Regions from separate parts of the Homo sapiens genome. Here regions 1, 2, 3 and 5 are each linked to region 4. The links are contacts of gene promoters, found by promoter capture Hi-C in blood cells and fetal thymus (Javierre and others, 2016). All regions are on one chromosome and are shown on one strand. Each heading gives the region's core, a stretch centred on a gene start or on the middle of the fragment in contact. The rest is flanking DNA. Distances are from core to core; before and after follow the strand shown.

Region 1 (2,700 bases), core at 1-2,500, 5.5 Mb before region 4:
GCTGAAGTGAAGGATGCTGGCGGGGAGGCCCGGAACCCGGAGCGCGGTCGGGGAACTGGGCACTGAATCATCGGACAACCTCGACAGAGCCCCCCTCGGCCCTCGGGAGAGCGGCGGGCATCACCGACCTGGCTCTTACCTGTATCCTTCCCAGCCTGTGGCTGCCAGGGTAGCGATGTTGAAAACGGGGCCCATCTTTTTCCAATTAGATTCCCATTACCTTTGACGCAGGGTGATCAAAACTAGCAAGTCATCTTAGTGCAGATATTTCCTTTAGCAACTGTCGTGTCTCACCTTAGACCTGAAATTATACCATTTTATCTAATTCTGTGGCTGCTTCCCCCCATCACCCTGTTATCCTACTCCCATTCTTCAACTTTGTAAAATTTTTGTGAATTTTAAAACACATCAACTGTGTATTCTGTGGGGATATTTTTATGCCATTATGTTCTTTACTTACATATTAACTACTTCCTGATTTATCGTACTACTTGGAGAGAGAAATTACACAAATAAGTAAAATGTTTTGCTATCCTAAAGAGTCCGTTTTAACAGTTATCCTAACACAGCCCTAAATGCATTTACCAGAGCTGCTAAAGGCTACACAGTTTGGTAAGTTGTTTTGTTTTCCATCTCTGCCCAGTCTGTTGTCAGAGCGACAGAAAAGAGGAAATGAGAAACAGGGGACCTGGACGCTTTACAATCTGGATTAACTCTGACTTTTCTCGAAGAGTTGGTTAAGCCTACCTTTGATGTTGCTGTTGGTTGCATTGTAGAAAATGGAAAGAGGAGAAGTATTTTGTTATCAAAATCTGTAAATCAGGTTTATTCCTTTAGAGACTGTTGTGATGATTAGGATTTAACCTTTGTATTCCCAAAGGACTTGGTTGGCAATGATGGTGTTGTGTAATCATCTTCAGTCTTGTCAGAGATGAGTGTCTTCTCTTTCCAAGTTAACTCTGTTTTCTTATCCCCTTTGTCTCCAATTTCTAGGATGTTCTTTGTACTCTGTTACAATTTTAGCAGCAAGTCAACAATTTGTATTGAGTGCCTGCTCTTTGGCTGACTCTGTTCTAGGTTCTAGGGATACAAATCTAGTGAGGAAGACAAATGTGTATAGAGCTTCACTAAAAGTAAAATATCTCTTCTCCGATCATGCTTTCTGCAATCTTCCATCCCTTCAGTCTTTTCTTTCTTTGGGCAGGTTCTCAAAATGGTAGCTTGCAATAGCTGCTTCTAGTTCCTCTCATCTATTCATTATTAACCCCATTCAGTTTGGCTTTTGCCCTTGCTGCTCCCCAAAATTGCCCTCTTAAAGGTTACTCTGAAATGAACACAATCATTTTCTGTATGGATTTAATTCTGGCCTCTTGACATTATATTTTCTTGGACACAACTGCTATTACACGACCCTGATTTATCTCTAAATCAGAAAATAGGGAAGTATTGTAAATGGCTCATTGAGAGTGTATTTTCTGTTATTTTCATTAATAAAATGGTTGTAGGCCTCATTTTTTAAATTTTATGTGGTATAAATTTTTGATACAAATGCCAAAGAAAATATTCATAAATAGAATCCAGCAATACTTTGAATGAACACAACCAAATAGACTCTATTCCAGAATTAGAATGACATTTCCTATAAAGAAATACAACACTAAAAAAGATCCTTAAAGGCTAAATATATAGTTAAAATTAGGCAAGTTATAAATGAACATTTTAATAGATGACCAATAGACTTTGATAAAATCCAACAATGTGTGTGTGTGTGTGTGTGTGTGTGTGTGTGTGTGTGTGTGTGTGTGCTGGTTTATATATATTTTTGCTAGTTTGCATATGTGTGTATATATATGTTTAGATAATATATATTTAAATTGGAACAGAGGAATTATTTTTGAACATAATAAAGATTATAACACTAAATCAAGAACATTATGTTTGCTAGCTGGAAAAACACTAAAGTACCTTTTATATAAGTTTAATTGGAATGTTCTTTGTGTCTATAATGTTTCCCATTGGATACCTAGCACAGAGTAGGTGCTCAAATTTACATGACTAAATGAAAAAAAGGAAAGAAAGCAAATGAAAGGACCACAGCCTTAAAATAAGCAAGTATGTGGTAACATTTACATTTCAATTTCAAATATGAACATGATACTCAGAGGCCATCTGGCTTTCTGTTGAAGACATTTTCTCACTGGAGTCAGAATTTTCTGACTCTAAAGGTTATAAAACAACAAAACCTTATGAAGTTTATTTAATTAAAATTAGCTAAAGTTCTGTCATTTCAATCTCTTTTTCTCTTTTGAGAGTTCAAATAGAAATGGAATTTAAAAAAAAAAAAAAAAGGAAGGTCTCTCATGTCCCCTTATACCTGCCTTTTTTTCCTCATAAATATCTCTACCCTTCAACCCTCCCATTTTATCCTAGCACCCACCTTGCCTCTCCTTTCCTCTCCAGTTTATACCCTATTCTTAACTATTTGAACTTTCTCTCACCAACATCTTTGGCTATTTGTACCCCAATCATTCTGCCTCAGCCACTCAATAACTACTATAGTCCTGCTCCTTTACTCCTTCATGCGAATAATAAAAATGCTGTCAAAGAAAAATCACAAAACAATACAGATTGTACCACTAAAGATTGATGGTTTCCAGCTTCACCTAAACAGGAACAGGGTTCTTTCTTTTTCCTATGAAT
Region 2 (2,700 bases), core at 148-2,647, 5.1 Mb before region 4:
TATGGTATTAGGATCCATCAAATACATTTAAAAGAGTGCTCTATCAATTTTTTCTGAAAATATCTATGTTTACATTTTGTAGATTCTTGACATGTACAAGAGCTTTATGTTTTAATGTTAAGTTAAAAATGGGCAAGGGAATGCAGAGCTTTTCAAAATTCTTCTGGTGAGTACATAATCAAAAATGTGTAAGGCCTGCAAATTATTTTCAATAATCTCAGGAGTGAGTTGAAAATGGCTTAGAAAGTCTTGATTGAAGCAGACTCAAATGTGGATTAAAATCTCCATATGATAAATACACTTAGTCTTTCTGAAATAATTCCAACTGGAACTTCAGCTGCTATGGACAGCCAAGTCCACCTAAACAAGAGGATGCCTCAGCTCAGTCCAATTGCGTGCAGAATGCACTGGATGCTGTTTCCACAGAACGATGAAGTCTCCAATAATCTTTATGGGCTCTGTCTCTGGTTGGTAATTGTCTTTGATCTACTGGAAGATAGAAAATCAGATGAGCTCTCCAAATCCATCTGTTACCCTGGTACGGATGGCTCTCAGATAAAGTTGCTTAAATTTACTGCTTAGAGAACGTTGAGGGAAATATGGCAGTGCAATTAGACTCAAAGATGTCAGGTTTCCCTGAGAATGGCACTGCAACTCAGAAACCTGCCCTGTGAGATCAAAGGCTATAAAGGAGGGATTTTTTTAAGTAGCCAACTCCACCCTACTTATTAAAAAAAAAAAAAAAACAACTCACCAAACCAAACAAAAGTATTTCCATACAGAAAATTTACCAAGCCATTTCAATCTTTAAAATGGTAAAATAAACTGCAAAGGAGAACTGCATGATTTTTTTCACATACCCCTACATTTCCTTTCACCTCTTACTTTCTTGATCAGAACAAAAAGTAAAAATAAATAGAAATATTTCACAAAGTTTCGATTTTTTTTTTTTTAAATGCTGGACTTCTGCAGCTATAGTAGAAGATTGAAAAACCTAACCTTTTTACGTGTAAAGTGTATGGCGGATGGAGGGTGGAGAACAGGGCATATTGACCTTTTCCAGGCAGGCTAAGCAATGATCGTCCTCTCTATATGGGTTGTTATCAAGATTTCCTCTGACCCACGAGCAATGAAGCAAATGTCTTTCAGTAAATGCCGCGAAGATATGCCACGGTTAAGAGTCATGCTTTTGGGTCATGGAAATCCCCGAGTGGGTTTGCCAGGCCACTGATTAAGAGGAAGTGTGTGTGGTTATTACCGCTGGAGTTCCCCTAAGTCCTAAAAGGAAAGCACCAGTGCACATGCAAACCACTGGGAGGAGTGCGGAACGCCTGGTACAGATAGGGGTGGGGATTTGGGTGACGCATTTAAAAGACAGCGTGAGACTCGCGCCCTCCGGCACGGAAAAGGCCAGGCGACAGGTGTCGCTTGAAAAGACTGGGCTTGTCCTTGCTGGTGCATGCGTCGTCGGCCTCTGGGCAGCAGGTGGGCAAGGAAGGCTGGTGTGTGTGTGTGTGTGTGTGCGTGTGTGTGTGTGTATGTGTGCGCGCGCGCGCGCCTCCCCTGGTGTAAGAGATGTGCCAGCGGCTGGCCGAGGGGCGCTTAGGGCTAGAGCCCGGGGCGCTGCAGAGGTTGAGAGTCAGTGGGTGGGGCGCAGTTATCAAACACCAGGGCCCAAAAGCAGGCTCTAGATAGGTTCCAGGTGCTCAATTTCTATTTCACGTTTGGAGTGAGCCAGTGGAATTGTGAAGTTGTGGCATTTTGATTCGGTTGCCAAGAGTTATCACTGGGCCTTTGCAGGTGCCAAATAAATTTCAGGACAGAGCCTAAGGCAGAGCTCTGGCACAGGAAGGAAGTAAAACGTTTAATGAGCAAATGGACGCATGTTTCCAAGCGGTGGTAGGAAGACAGCAGTTTTTGGTTGTCTTCCTGGTGATCAGCATGGAAACCTAGTAGTGCTCTTACTCTGATCAATACATTGTCGAAGGCATGTACCTGATGCTAACGTAACAATAATATTAAATATTGACTTTATTTGCTATTATTTATTGCTAACATTAAGTACTGCTACCTGCTATGTGCTAGGTTTGTCTCTGAAGACTTTACATGTATTTTTCACGTTTAATTATCATAATCTTAAGAAGCAGGTACCATAATTATCTCCATTTGACAATGAGGAAACTGAGGCTCTTGGAGATTTACTTGTGCAAGGTCATGCTTCTGGTTACCGGACTGCTTGGTATTGGGCACCCCCGATGTCTGACTCCAAAGCCTGATACTAATCAATCACTGAGCTGACTCTGTGGTCATTAATATAAAATTGATAGAAGTACTGTGGTCACTCAGGTCTCAGTCATTTACTTCTTCAACGGGAAGTCTTCGTGTCTACCCCATATACCAAGCTCTGCAGATGCTATGAGTGGGAGGGCAGGTACAGAGATGAAACATATTAATAGTTGCCATTCTAAAAGAGCTTACTGTCTAGCGGGAGGCAGAAAGAAAAGGCACACTTGCCCTCCAGTGTCAGAAAAATGGATGTGCTGCATGCCCAAAGGGTAGGGATGCCCAACAGCCCTGGGACTGGGGAGGTTGCCTTCTTGGTAGGTTAAATGAATGAGTCAGAAGAGGAGAGGCTGGGGACTGAGCCAATCTGAGAAGGAACCACTAGAAATGAAAGAAGAATCCCAAGAGCTTGGTATC
Region 3 (2,700 bases), core at 114-2,613, 5.9 Mb after region 4:
CAGGTCACTGCGCCATTTCCTGTCCAAAGCTGGGCGAATCAGGTCGGTGCCGCGGGGTACCCCGGAATCCCCCCTGGGAGCTGGTCCTGCACTGGCCTTCAGAGCCGAGCAGAGGACGCTGCTTTGGGCCCCAGAGCATGGGAAGGTCTTGGCTGCGGTCTGGGACGGCTGCGGTCTGGGACCTGCATGGAGGGCCCGGGACTTGCGGACGCCTGGGAGCGGTTGCTGGGCAACAGTGCGTGCGGCCTGGCCTCTTTGCGCCCGGCGGGCAGCGCGCGTCTGGGGCAGGCTCCGCGCGGGGCTCGGGCACAGGTCCCCGCTGCCGCAGCCCTACCGAGTGAAGCACTGAGCGCGGCGCCGCTTCGCCATCACCTGGCTCTGGCCCTCTCACCCTAGCGTAGGGGGGCACTGGCCAGGCAGTGAGGACCCTGAGATCCATGCCCTGGGAGACAGAGGTTGTCTCCTGTCCATGCACCCGCGCGCCTGCCTTCTAACCTTCATACCGTTGGGCAGATTAATTCACTGGACTAGGCCTCTGTTCCGTGGGAGTTGAAAAGATTTGACCTGGAAGAAACCCTAGCGATTATTCAGTTAAGCCGCAACCCCACCCCCTGTTTTATATAGGTAAGGGTGCTTCACGGTGAGGACTCGTCGCGTGCCTGGTGCTTTACATCAGTCCCCAGAATAGTCCTCGTAGTTTCTCTCTTACTGTTCCCATAGTATGGGTGAGGACTCTGAGGCTCGGAGAGGTTGTGAATTTAGCCAGAATCACACAGCTTGTAACTGGTGGAGATGAGGACACTGAGACTCGATTAAATCACTCGTAGTTTGTTCGTGGCAGATTACGTGTTAGAAGCGTGTTACACTACTATGAAACCTGGCCATAAATGAGAATCACCTGGAAAGTGTTTAAAATCTATATTCGTGTCTGGGCAATGTCCCGGGTTTACTGACTTGAAATCTCGGGCTACGGCTGAGGAAGCTGTATATTTAACAATCTTCCCGATGATTTTTATGATCTGTGGATGAACCACTGAGTACTGCTGGGTACACCACGGGGCCTTCTCGCACAAAAACAACTGTAAAATAATATCTGAGGTACCTAGAGCAGAAGAGACGCTGGTGAGCATGGTAACATTATGTTCTAATCCCTTCAGTCAATTTGTACCCTTTCTTCACTCTTCAGAAACAAGCCAAAGGCAGATTTTAAACAAGTATGGACATTTAGATGCAAATTGCCCCAAGTTTGTTACCTGTCACACATCCACATTTAAGCTTCTGACTAGACCAGCCTGTCATGATCAAAGTCAGGTGTTAGTGTATTTCTCTATCCTTGGCAACCTGTCATCTGCTCTCTTCTCATCTCCATGCCAGGTCCCTAAATCGCCGGGGTTGATGTTGGCTTTGGAAGAACTATTTGCAGAGCGTTTTCTGCACTGGAAGGAGGGCTGGAAGCTTTCTGGAAGCATTGCCGCACGTAAATGAGTGCCTCTTGGCCTAAAACAGCAGTTGGAATGAAAGGGATCACCCTGCTGTTATTCATTGACATAAACAAAACTGTCATAAAAATAATCACTTGGCTCTTAGTTTTAGAAGGCTAATAAGCCTGACCGTTCTGTTTAGTGCTTTATTATTATTAATTTCACCATTATGCTGCATCCCTTAGGGATTCCGGTTCACAATGGATGCTGATAAAGAGAAAGATTTGCAGAAATTTCTTAAAAATGTGGATGAAATCTGTAAGTACTAGTAAATCATAAATTAATTTCTGCTTTAGAGAAGTGGAGTAGATAAATGATTGCTCTAAGTTCCTGGGTGGCTTGACAGGTTTATAACTCTTAGGAAAAAAATGTAATTGAAATTAAAGAGAAGGGTATTGAGAAACAAGTTATAGCCTCAGGGCTGTATTTTCTGGCTGTTAATTGGTATCAGAGAAACTGTTAACATTCTGATAGGAATTCAGGCTGACGGTTTTCTTCCATATTTTGTATCCTTCTATGTGGAATCCAGTCAAAACCAGCTGCTGTTTCCCCATTGACAATGAACCCAGCTGTTCCCTTCAAGGGTCAAGAACCTCATTGATCAGTGTGAGATTCCTCCCGTTTTAGAGTAGAGCCATTTCTGTTTTAGAGCTGCAGAGGCAAAATCAAATGGCTTTCCTTTAGGATCCATCAAATTACATGGATGGTTTATGATCATCATTCCCTTCTCTCTCTCTAGACAAGAAAGTCCTTTCCCAAGTTCAGGCAGGTTGGATCTCAAAGAAATGTACTCTGATCCCACAGATCACATTCAGGAATTTCCAAACCTGTCAGTCCCTGTTCAGGGAGCTTGCTTGAGTATAGAAACAAACAAACCAACAAGCAAACAGACCTTACATAGTAAATACAGGCAATATGCTGAAATTGCTGCTTGTAGCAGATTGTATGGGTTCAAGGAATAAAGTGGTTTTAAAGCTAGCTTGGGTGACATCGTAAATGATACATGAATAATGCTTATCCCTGAATGCTGTTCCATGGAGCTCTGGCCTTGGCCCACTGCCACCTTTCTCTTCAGCTGGTCTAAACATGTAGCTTTACCTGCCACCTGTTTGTTCATGACCCCCACATCTACATGGACACTTAGCCTTCTTTTCTGAGCCTCTGCCTCTATGGTACTGTCATACCTACTGTATCCCACAAATAAACTTAAATGTGTCCA
Region 4 (2,700 bases), core at 124-2,623:
ATATATATACCCACACACACACATTACATATGTTGAAATTACGAAACAATACCAACATTTCACCTACCCAAGACTAATCGCCCACTCTTCCCCTTTAAAACCTGGCTGTAGTCATTTTCTTTTTTTTTTTAATCAAATATAAAAATAATTTATTAAAGGTTTATATCAGAGAACTGCTGAAGCAACAAGAACTAGAAGAGTTAATATTCCAGAAAAGGGAAAATCATGGAGAGGTAGTCCAACATTCTGCAGCTAGCTTTTCCCTGGGTGCATATAATAATTCTTGGTGTAGGCAAGAAGATGAATACAATGGTTATATACCAAACAGAAAAATCGATATCAGAGAAAAGAGCAGGGCTTATGATGGACTCCAAAGAACAGGGTGAGAAAATTGGAGATTAAAGGAGAATGGGGCTGCTTCACCCTCAAATTATTTGCCAAATTTTGAAACTATGTCATTTTCCCTTTAGAGTCTCCTCTCCCTCTTCTCTGCTGGCTCCTTCTCATTTGCATTTAAACTTGTTTAAAACTCTTCCAACTTAAATAAAAACAAAAACCCTCACTGAATTCTCTGTTGCTCTCCAACTGCAACTTTTCTCTTTCATTGCCACACTTCTTACATATTGAATAGATTGTCAGATAATTCAGAAGCTTACTTTCTCCATTCTTTGTATGTTACCTCTATGTATCTGAAGTTTAGTGAGAAATACAATGTTTCGCGATCTTTTGTGACAGGCTAAATATACTGAGATTGGTGTTAACTTTTGTTTGGATTGGTAAGAGCTTACAGTAAGTCTGGAATTGATACCAATAGAGACAGGAGGAGGAAATGTCAAACTGAGTCTATTCAAGTGTGACTTGAATGTGTTTCCGAAAAAGGAAAATCTCATTTCAGATACAGCAGTAGCAATGACTGAGGCTGCGAGACATGCTGGCAGAGTCCTTACAAGCCGCAGGGGACCTACAAAGTGTGCAGTCCGAGTGATAGAAATGTAAAGAATGGGTAACTTAAAAGGTAAAGAAACTTGGAGAAAAAGCGACAGATCTGCCTGAAAAGAGAATTAGCAACTGGCACCTGCCAGAACATCTAAAAAATCGGTAGCTACAAAAGGGTTTACCGGCATTGCAAAGGGAGAACTCACCCAAATTAAGGTGAGATTCAGTACTGACGAGGTAAGGGAAGGGGTGAGTGGGCTAGCTTACGGGAACCCTCAACTCCCACAACAATAAATAACTACAAAAGCCCCAAAACAGAGGTACCTGGCGCAACACCTCGGCCCTGGCATTCCGGGTCTGTTCTTTCCGCTCTTCGATACTCTTCGCACTTTCAAATCTACCACTAGCAGCCGCCATACTTGTTGCCATCGTAAAGCTAAGAAGCCGCAAGAAAATTCTAGTTTACGACGGTCGTAATTTAACAAACAAACCGGGACTTCCGGACCCGAGGAAGGAGGAGCACGGCTCCACCAACAGGGCATGCGCACATCTGAGGTCGCTTAGGGCTCGGATTACCGCAGCCCAGATTTTAAAGACCCGAAGGGTGTTGGAGGGTTTAATTCTTTCAGGTGTTGGGTGCGATTGTGAGCAGGATTAATACCCGTATATATTTATTATGCACTTTTTACTATATTAACAGCTTTCTCACCAATTTCGTCTTAAAATCACCGGAGTAAGTTACAAGCTCTTGGAAGTTAAGTTGGTACCTCTCAAAAGTTTTCTGCGGAAGTACCCTTTGTCGCCAGAGCATCATTTCCCTGTGCTGGAGGAATGGGATAAAGGGAGGCTGCCAGAAAGGTAGTGGCAGCTGGCAGGAAGGACAGAATTGCCTTGAAGATTCAGTGTTTTGTTTTGGTGGATTTTACTTAATATATGAAACACTCATGTGAATTTTGCATTGCACTTCACAATTTACCCGTGCTTAACTTGTTAGAAGTTTACATTATATTTTTTCCTCTGACCCCATATTATTTACTCATACTTATCCATCCAAGCATTTTTCATTACAATGGACAGTTACTTATTTATTTCTGCGGAGATTTCTTTGTTTTGTTTTACGCATGTATCGCCCAAACATAAAACTTTTAAGTTCAGAAGAATAAGACATTCTAAGGTGATGAAGTGCTTTGAGAACATAAGACACTAAGCTTACATTTACAAGAAGAAGAAGGCTGGGGAATTAATTATAAACGATACCTTAAAGACGCTAAAAATAAGTAACATAAGCCAGGTTGAGGTAAATACTCTTTCTCTTCAGGTTTCATAAAATTTAATGTGTGTTTGCAAGAAGCTTTCCAAGAGTTTTTACATTCACTACCATTCTATGAGTCTGAATCTTGAACACACAATGCCTACTTGTTTGATATGCAATAGAAAGTATTCATTTTATTTTAAAATGTAATTTACTAATCGACCTTGTAATATTTAATCAACTGACTACATTGACTGATATTTGTCATAACTAGCATCAACGTCTTTTCAGATTCTCTTGGAATTCAGAAAAACATCCATTTCACTGTTTTGCATCAATTCAATAAAAATAAACTGTGATTATATTAGAAACGTGTGTGTTTTAATCAGTTCAGGCTGCTATAACAAAATATTATAGAATGGATGGCTTATAAATAACAAACAAGTATGTCTTACAGTTCTGGAGGCTGGATAAAATCAAGGTGTTGGGCTATTTGCTGTCTAGTGAAGGTG
Region 5 (2,700 bases), core at 34-2,533, 6.9 Mb after region 4:
CCCAAATATTGTTAGTTGAATGAACAAACACACATTTCAAGGAGGGCACTACAGTGAGTAGATGAACAGTTTTCTGATAGGAGATTGTACAAGTAATGTTTTCACCAGTGTATTTTAGGACAGCAGATTCAGATTAATGCGCTGGGACTGAATGCAAATAGTAAAATTACAAATATAAAGTAAAAATTTGGAACCTTTGCCAAAGAAAGGAATAATAAATTGATTTAATAATTTGAAAGAACTGTAAGGTTTAGGTTTTGTTCTTATTTTTAGTGCGACTGAGATTGGAGTCTGTTTGTAGACATATCTGAAAAAAGTGAAGGGGGAGATGGAAGATGGTAAATGCCAAGGAAAAGATGGAAGGATAAATCAGTGTAATAAAAAGGAGCACTTCTTTTTCGCCAACAGAAGTAAAGGTAAAGGTTAAGTGTCTGAGTTAACGAATGGATTGTTGACCTCTGGGGAGGGTGCTCCCATCAGCTCAGCTTTGTGACGACCTAAGAATATCCCTTCCACACCTTTCCTGATCCAATCGTTCTGGCTGCATAAAACCACCTAAATCAATCAACTGTTACACTTCCCTTAGTGCTAGGACATATTCATATAACTCCCACGTATTAAATGAAAATACATCCATCTAAAAATAAAACAACACGATTGCTGCTACACCAAGAAAGGATTTTAAAAAGGCCTGTTCACAAGCTAAGTGAGGGCCAGAGGAAAGGTGTTCGTTTAAACTGAAATTCGAGCTGCGATAACACCTCCTAATGCAATCAAACGCTGTTGCAGCACACTTCTTAGGAGATCGGGTTCAACGGCAGGGATTGGGTAAGGTGAGAATCTGGCTTGGCGGCTCCGGCCCCGGCCATCTGGTTCCCTTGGGCTCCGGCCGCCACCATCCACTCGACGGCTCTCGGCCCGAACGCTTGGTCGCACCGCCTGCCGAGGTCCTAGATGAATCGCTTCAGGCCTGGAAACGAGGAAGCCGTCTCCGGAGACCATCGCCAACGCTGACGCCCGCGGTCTGAGGTCGCCATGGGAAGAGCGGTAGGCCACCCTGCTCCTCTGATCACCGGAGGACAGGGACACATTGTTCAGGGCCATATTCAAACACTGCCCGCAGTACTTGCGTTACGTCCCTTTGTGAAGGCAGGCCCTTCGCGGCTCCCCAGATCAGTCCAGCCTGTGTCGGACCCGATGACTAAGCACACAGGAACCCATAACTGAGCCTGCGGAAGAGCCAGAAGCCGCCTTGCCTTTAACGAGGGGTATCCTGGCGAGCATGCGCAGACCGTCCGCGCACGTCGTCGCCCGCTGAGAGCAAGCGCAACGGGCGTTTTCGTTTGTGACGCCAGGGAGCGTGAGGACGTGGGGCTTCCGTGAATGCGCAGTGGGTGCGTCGGCCACGACCTTTTGGCCAGGTTAGGGAGGGGGCGACGCTGAGATGGGGGCGGCGGCGGCGGAAGCGGATCGCACTCTCTTTGTGGGCAACCTTGAAACGAAAGTGACCGAGGAGCTCCTTTTCGAGCTTTTCCACCAGGTAAGCGGCTGGGTTCGGCCCTTTGCCTTTCGTTTTCCGTCTCGCCTAGGGCCTGGCCAGCGGCCACCCCGTTTTCTTTTCGTAGCCGTCAGGGGACCCGACGGGTGGCTGTTTGGGGGTGAAAGGCGGGTCTGGGTTGCGAAACGCTCGCTGGGTGTCGCTTTCCTGGAAGATCTTGGTTCGTTTAGGCCGAAAGTGACGACTAAAGGTGGTGGAGGGATCCTCGATCAGGTTTCCCGTGGTAGAGATCCAGGGGTCCTTGGGAACACAGTGTGTGTGTAGGGTCTTCGTTGAGCAGTGCTTTTTCTTATCCTTCCTGTTGTCATCTTCCCCTTAGGATAATTTGTCTTTGGTTTATCTGACTGGGAACTTAATATTTTAATTTATTTGTGTCTGTTTTCCCCTAAAGTTTGCTTATCAAATTGCAGCATTATTAAAATATGTAAAATAAAATGGTTAAGTACTCCGTAGAAAAACAGCATTTTAGTGTTGCTGTATTAAAAAGTGTGAAAAATTCTGAGTATCCTATTCCCCCCATCCCTATCCCCTAATAACTGGTATTGTTTGATTAATCAATACAAAAGTCCGTTTTTAGTTAAAGAAAATCATTCTCTTGTTCTTGATAAATGTTCATTTTCATGGAGTGGCAAAATAATGGCGATTGGTCACTATGTTAAGCCATACAGTGCTGTGAATTGCAAAAGTGATTGTGTTTCCAGTTCCTTATGGGCCCCCTTCCCCAAATAAATCTAATGTTCAGTCATAACTAGGATGTTTACTGTAGCCAAAATGGAAATCCGTGCATCATTTTCAAAAGAAGTTTCTGATTACGTTTCTGTTGTTTTTAAACTTTGTCATATCTTATTTGTAAAATTTGAGTATTTTCCCTTAGTTGCTTTATTTAAATTCTAAACACCTTTTTGTTTGTAGGCTGGGCCAGTAATAAAGGTGAAAATTCCAAAAGATAAGGATGGTAAACCAAAGCAGTTTGCGTTTGTGAATTTCAAACATGAAGTGTCTGTTCCTTATGCAATGAATCTACTTAATGGAATCAAACTTTATGGAAGGCCTATCAAAATTCAATTTAGATCAGGTAACTGCCCAATGAGGTTCGGGGGGCATTGTTTCCTGCTGTTTTTAAATTTATTATTCAGTTTTAA

What was found. The method cuts DNA at HindIII sites, captures the fragments that hold promoters and counts their contacts. A CHiCAGO score of 5 or more calls a contact.
Region 1: the fragment with the promoter of ANGPTL5 here is called in contact with the fragment with the promoter of CWF19L2 in region 4 in 3 of 17 cell types (total CD4 T cells, total CD8 T cells and naive CD8 T cells); the score reaches 6.9 in total CD4 T cells.
Region 2: the fragment with the promoter of BIRC3 here is called in contact with the fragment with the promoter of CWF19L2 in region 4 in 3 of 17 cell types (activated CD4 T cells, total CD8 T cells and naive CD4 T cells); the score reaches 6.6 in activated CD4 T cells.
Region 3: a contact is called between a fragment that was not itself captured here and the fragment with the promoter of CWF19L2 in region 4, in 1 of 17 cell types (naive CD8 T cells). The highest score is 6.1, in naive CD8 T cells.
Region 5: the fragment with the promoter of C11orf71 here is called in contact with the fragment with the promoter of CWF19L2 in region 4 in 2 of 17 cell types (fetal thymus and activated CD4 T cells); the score reaches 9.2 in fetal thymus.

Annotation. Positions count from the first base shown.
Region 1 is chr11:101,915,272-101,917,971 of GRCh38, forward strand. It overlaps ANGPTL5 (angiopoietin like 5), which reads right to left and starts at 1,251. Exons shown (of 9, transcript NM_178127.5): 1 at 748-1,251. It overlaps CEP126 (centrosomal protein 126), which reads left to right. Exons shown (of 11, transcript NM_020802.4): 1 at 1-141. The coding sequence starts at 14. The HindIII fragment of the contact is 9,032 bases long and covers 1-2,700 here.
Region 2 is chr11:102,316,087-102,318,786 of GRCh38, forward strand. BIRC3 (baculoviral IAP repeat containing 3) reads left to right here and starts at 1,398. Exons shown (of 9, transcript NM_001165.5): 1 at 1,398-1,485. It overlaps LOC124902739 (a long non-coding RNA gene), which reads right to left and starts at 1,157. Exons shown (of 2, transcript XR_007062864.1): 1 at 1,000-1,157; 2 at 1-486. RefSeq lists enhancers at 845-2,044, 949-1,018, 1,029-1,388, 2,190-2,389, 2,650-2,699. The HindIII fragment of the contact is 7,438 bases long and covers 1-2,700 here.
Region 3 is chr11:113,314,577-113,317,276 of GRCh38, forward strand. TTC12 (tetratricopeptide repeat domain 12) reads left to right here and starts at 7. Exons shown (of 22, transcript NM_017868.4): 1 at 7-42; 2 at 1,667-1,739. The coding sequence starts at 1,682. RefSeq lists silencers at 1-67, 91-385, 278-377. The HindIII fragment of the contact is 180 bases long and covers 1,274-1,453 here.
Region 4 is chr11:107,456,452-107,459,151 of GRCh38, forward strand. CWF19L2 (CWF19 like cell cycle control factor 2) reads right to left here and starts at 1,374. Exons shown (of 18, transcript NM_152434.3): 1 at 1,261-1,374. The coding sequence starts at 1,365. RefSeq lists an enhancer at 1,153-1,658. The HindIII fragment of the contact is 1,493 bases long and covers 650-2,142 here.
Region 5 is chr11:114,399,228-114,401,927 of GRCh38, forward strand. C11orf71 (chromosome 11 open reading frame 71) reads right to left here and starts at 1,284. Exons shown (of 1, transcript NM_001271562.2): 1 at 1-1,284. The coding sequence starts at 1,104. The coding sequence ends at 733. It overlaps RBM7 (RNA binding motif protein 7), which reads left to right and starts at 1,439. Exons shown (of 5, transcript NM_001286045.2): 1 at 1,439-1,540; 2 at 2,471-2,633. The coding sequence starts at 1,445. RefSeq lists enhancers at 526-1,068, 782-1,171, 1,069-1,611. The HindIII fragment of the contact is 8,162 bases long and covers 1-2,700 here.